Regions from separate parts of the Homo sapiens genome. Here region 2 is linked to region 1. The links are contacts of gene promoters, found by promoter capture Hi-C in human tissues and cell types (Jung and others, 2019). All regions are on one chromosome and are shown on one strand. The core of a region is centred on a gene start or on the middle of the fragment in contact, and the rest is flanking DNA. Distances in the headings are between cores, read along the strand shown. Region 1 holds the start of ZNF281 (zinc finger protein 281). Region 2 overlaps NR5A2 (nuclear receptor subfamily 5 group A member 2).

Region 1 (2,642 bases), core at 38-2,537:
CATAAGTATTAGTAAATAATCCCTATGGTTTCGATTGTGAAATTTCCCAGAGAATTTATTATTTAATTATGAGAAGTTATTTAGCTAGAAACATTGTGATGTACATGTAACTTCATTAAGAAAACATACTATGTAAATAAGCTGTTGTCATAGTTCTAGTTCTTTTATTTAAAATTTCTCATTTATAAATATCCTTTGCTAGGAAAGTGTCTGGTTTAGATTTCTGCATGCTTAACATGAAATCGAGTGCCTTGTGTACATTAGACACTGAATAAATATTTGTTGTTTGATTTTGTTGATATAACTTTGATTTTAAGATTTTACTTCATAATTTTCCCTTACAAGAAAAATTTCTAAATTTGCAATGAGTTTCTCGGTATTCTGTACTGGCGAGGAAAGAGTTGATCCTAGCAGAGCTCTTAGAATGGCCTGGTGGTTAATTTTTCATAAACAATATAAAGGGCCAGGCATTCATAACGTGGCAAACAGACTGATTAGCCAGGCTAAGGTACGGGGGCATTTAAATAAGATGTAATGATAATGAAGTATGTGTGTGGGCGTGTTTTACAGGACTGCTGCACCTGGATTACGCTCGGTTTCCTCTTCCAGTAGCCTTCAGGAAGGTTGGCAGTAAGACAAGTTTTTTTCTTTTTCTTTTTTTTTTTTTTGTTGCAACGGTACCACTAATTGCGGTTTCAAAGCAGGCTCCTCCCATAAATGCAAAGGATATGCGCCCATTATTAGTGCTTCCAAATTCAAAGGGATAACATAAGCACCTGTTTTAATAAATGTTGAGCATTTGGAGTTGAATGCTTCTTGATAGAATCAAAAGTGCCCTCAATGATCCACTTCTAGGTTTGAATTTTATTTCAAGACCTGGATTGCAAAACCTAGAGTGAAGAAAGCCCTAACATTGAATCCTCAGTTTCCCTCACCTTCTCTTCCAGCCCCTTTCTCTGCATCTCCCACGCCACGCTGTAGTACAGTCCCCCGTAACTTCCCGCCCCTTGGGTTCCACCTCCTGAGCGTCTTTCCCCCAGAAACCCTCAACCACTTTCATCTCCTTCAGTGCAGCCCACCAATCACGCCTGTTCGCCTCGAAAGCCCCTTTTTAGCAGGGCTCCAAATCCCCGCCTCCCCTGCCCTTGCTCCCCCGCCTCCGCCCAACGGCCCCAGTGATTGACAGGCAGGCCGGGCGGAAGCTGCGGCGCAGGCGCCCTGGCTCCTTAGCCCTCCCCTCTGGCCGGGTCGAGGAGTTCCCAGCAGACACTGCGCCGCGGCTGCGCAGTACACGGGAGGCTTTTAATTCCATTGTGGAGAGGACGGCGTTATTTTTATTAACTGGAGGCGACGGCGGCTGCGGCGGCGGCGGGACCCGTAAGTATTGCCGGTGGGTCCAGGAGGGAGAGGGCGAGGCCTGGGGAAGAGTCGCAGGACCATGCGTGCCGGTGCCGGAGGCGACTGGGCTGGGAATTAGTGCTGGGCGCGTTGCGGTCTGGGCGGCGGCGCGGCGGGGTCCTTAGCGCTGCGGTGGTCCCGGCCCGGGGCCCGGTTCCACCTCCTTTCCTCCCTCTTCCCTCTTCCTCCTCCTTTCTTCAGCCAGGCCTCCTCCGGGGTATGAAAATCGGCAGTGGGTTCCTGAGTGGCGGCGGAGGTACCGGCAGTAGCGGTGGTAGCGGCTCCGGCGGCGGTGGTAGTGGCGGCGGCGGCGGCGGCGGCAGCAGCGGCAGGAGGGCAGAGATGGAACCCACCTTTCCCCAGGGTATGGTTATGTTCAACCACCGTCTTCCCCCGGTCACCAGCTTCACCCGGCCGGCGGGGTCGGCCGCCCCTCCCCCGCAATGCGTGTTATCCTCCTCTACCTCCGCAGCCCCGGCCGCTGAGCCCCCCCCTCCGCCAGCCCCGGACATGACTTTCAAGAAGGAGCCGGCGGCGTCAGCCGCGGCCTTCCCCTCGCAGAGGACCTCCTGGGGGTTCTTGCAGTCTTTGGTTAGCATCAAACAGGAGAAACCCGCGGATCCTGAGGAGCAGCAGTCCCACCACCACCATCACCACCACCACTATGGGGGGCTGTTCGCTGGAGCTGAAGAGAGGTCTCCAGGCCTAGGAGGCGGTGAAGGGGGGAGTCACGGCGTCATCCAGGACCTCAGTATTCTCCACCAGCATGTCCAGCAGCAACCAGCCCAGCACCACCGTGACGTATTACTCAGCAGCAGTAGCAGGACTGATGACCACCATGGCACTGAGGAGCCAAAGCAGGACACTAATGTCAAAAAGGCAAAAAGGCCAAAGCCAGAATCTCAGGGAATCAAAGCCAAGAGGAAGCCAAGTGCATCTTCCAAACCTTCTTTGGTTGGAGATGGAGAAGGTGCCATCCTCTCCCCAAGTCAGAAACCTCATATCTGTGATCACTGTAGTGCTGCTTTCCGAAGCTCCTATCACCTGCGGAGACATGTCCTCATTCATACAGGAGAAAGACCTTTCCAGTGCAGCCAGTGTAGTATGGGTTTCATTCAGAAATACCTACTACAGAGACATGAGAAAATTCATAGTAGAGAGAAGCCATTTGGATGTGATCAGTGCAGCATGAAGTTTATTCAGAAGTACCATATGGAGAGACACAAGAGGACACATAGTGGAGA
Region 2 (2,642 bases), core at 77-2,576, 370 kb after region 1:
TCAGTTCTGCCAGCAATGTTGAATTGTCCAAATCCGAGCTGGCTGCGGGTGTCCGCCTGGGCTTTTGGTGTGGTCACATGTATTCTAATAGCGCTAAGACAATCCTTTCGGAGGTCACCTCTTTCTGTAGTTGACTTTCCTAGACTGGGTCGCCTCCCTCCACACAAGAGTACTGGTTGAAGTACAGTACACACCAATTCCAATGACAGAGAACCTGTTCGGGTGTCCAGTGAGACATTCCATTTCTTAGAATGATCTTATTATTCTAAAGTACCTTTAGCCTGAAGCTGCCCTGCTTGGGTTGCCATAGAGCTGGAAGCCTCTCTTTCCTTAATTAGAAGCGGCCAATTAGACGTTGCTTGGAAAAACCTCTGCCCCGCATTGTTCAAGAGCCATAAACTTTTATGCCTGCACCTGGGGAGGGGGCTTGACTCCCGCGGCTGCGAGCGCCCAGCGGGGCTACTCCCGCGCCCGCGCGGGGCGGGAGGCTGAAGCCTGCAGGGCGAGCCCGGGGGTGGGGAAGCAGCGGGAGCCGGAGCGCCGCGCGGCGCCTCCTTACCTTGCATGTTTTCCGGCATCTGGCCCTGTTCCCCATGCGATCGAGCCAGTCCCAGGGCTTCCGTCTCCACTTTGGGCAGCATGACAAGGCGACCGCGGGCGGGGATGGGGGATCCGTGTCGGTCCGGAAGCCCAGCACCTGGACACGGGCAGCACAGATTCAACTCCGGCGAAAAGAAGGAAGGGGCGACCGGGATGCCTGCTAACCCAACCCTCTCGCCTCGCCGGAGCGTGCCTCCGCCTCCTCGGGGCTGCCGGGCAGGACCTCTGAGCCCTGTCCGGTCTCGCAGCTCCGGAGCCGCCCCCAAGCTGCGAGGAGGAGGTCAGGGTTAAAAAAGGAGGCGAGGAAGACAGCGTCCCGGCCCTCTGGTTCGGCTCCGCAAGGGCGCAGGCGGCGGCGGTGGCGAGGACGCAGCTGCCCGGGGCGCGGAGCCGTGAACCGCCGAGCTCCCGGCGGGCAGCGGAGGCGACCGCGGGGCTGCTATTGCCGCCCCGGCTGTGCCGCTGCCACTGCTCCCGGACGGCTCGGGCGACTCCTTCCCCTCCCTCCACCGCCCTCTGGCTCAGGATCGGCAGGGGTCTCTCTCCTCTTTCTCTCGCCTCCCTTCTCTCTCCCCTCCTCTCCGCCCCTTCCCCCTATCTCTCTCTGCCTCTCTCTTGCTCACTATCGCAAGTGTGGAGTTGTGAAGTTCCAACCTCCCTCTCCTGCCTGGTCCACTCCCCGCGCGGGACCGAGAACGGCCCTTCCCAGCCCCGAGGGTGACGGTGCTGGGAAGGACAGGGGGGAAGACGAGGGGGAGAAGGAGGTAAGTAGGGCCAGGGGTTGGGGGAAGGCTGGATTGAGGGGTGAAGACAGTGAATGCGGACGCGGGTTCCGGACTCAGGTCGGACACTAGCCGCCAGCCAATAAGGATGAGGCTCAGGCTCCAGTCCCCCGGCCTGCCCCAACCTCTTCACCCCGCCTCACCCCCTCCCACCCCACCCTGGCCCGGGGCGGGGGGATGTAAATGCAGCCGGGTCTTACAGCTAGTCAGAAGCGACCTCTGTCTGAGCGTGGCGGCGAAGGAGAAGCAGCCAGAGCGGCAATTTCCTCGATCTGAGGGGAAGCAAGAAGAAGGGATGGGGGCGCGGGTGGGCGTGTGCCCTTGCTAGTGTGTCGGATGAGGAGATGAAGGGAGTTAAACACCCACTTAAACCATTGAAAGGAGAAAATTTAGCTGACCGTTCTTACATGCAGAGTTGGTCTGCGGTCAAGGGTCCTCCAGCTTCAACTCCCCAGGGCACTGAGACCCTGAAGAGGCGACACGTGGGCCCCGGCGCCCTGAAGGGGCCGAGGGTCAGCTCAATGAGAGGCGGGCCACAAGCCAAGAGCTCACTCATAGAATTAGAGGAAGGGGCAGCGACTCCTCTTTCCCCAGTCTGCTCCCTAGTCCCTTCGTTCACTTTTAAAAGACCCTCGACTGGAGCCCAAGATCATCTAAGCGACAGACTTTCCAGTTTTAGTGACCTGTGTTTCCACACGGAATACAAGGATCAGTCCAGGCTGTACTTTTTCATTCTGTTGTCTGATGGGACCATCCACTTGAGGCCGAGGCCCAGCATTTAAAAAATGTTTTAAAGAACCATCTGTTACGCAAGCTCTTCGACCACCAGCCCAGCCGCATCTTCAAAGTTTTCAGATCTCCTCCCAACAAGATGAAAAACATTCTTTCCAGCCTCCTGACTGCATGCGAAATGCCTCATATTTAGAATCTGCTGTGCAACGAAGTAATTATCAGAGTCCACCCACAAGGGGGTGAATTTGAATCTCAAAAGATCTAAGTTTATTCTATTTGAATGGTATAGAGATTACACATTGAAACTGCCCAATCCGGTATTTGGTGACTTGGAAATTATTCCAATCTTTGCAGTGCATAATGTACATAAAATGGGTTGTTCATCACCCACCCACACCTGGCAATTCAGGTACTACTGACTCTTAATTGATTTGTCATTTTGCTCTTCAATATATATTCAGGATCAAAGTTATTTAGACTTCAGCTTTAGTAGCAACTTCAGGTTTCGTGGAAACATTTAAACTTATG

The links. Contacts are between HindIII fragments. The study calls those that stand out against the background at their distance.
Region 2: a fragment that was not itself captured here is called in contact with the fragment with the promoter of ZNF281 in region 1 in 1 of the 25 tissues and cell types used here (mesenchymal stem cells).

What each region holds. Positions count from the first base shown.
Region 1 is chr1:200,408,681-200,411,322 of GRCh38, reverse strand. ZNF281 (zinc finger protein 281) reads left to right here and starts at 1,287. Exons shown (of 2, transcript NM_001281293.2): 1 at 1,287-1,377; 2 at 1,600-2,642. The coding sequence starts at 1,618. RefSeq lists enhancers at 1-33, 709-758, 305-882, 883-1,460, 1,461-2,038 and a silencer at 1,099-1,278. The HindIII fragment of the contact is 25,771 bases long and covers 1-2,642 here.
Region 2 is chr1:200,037,713-200,040,354 of GRCh38, reverse strand. It overlaps NR5A2 (nuclear receptor subfamily 5 group A member 2), which reads right to left. Exons shown (of 8, transcript NM_205860.3): 2 at 560-697. Among named protein-coding and RNA genes, the nearest start is that of NR5A2, 11 kb to the right of the region's middle. The HindIII fragment of the contact is 6,014 bases long and covers 1-2,642 here.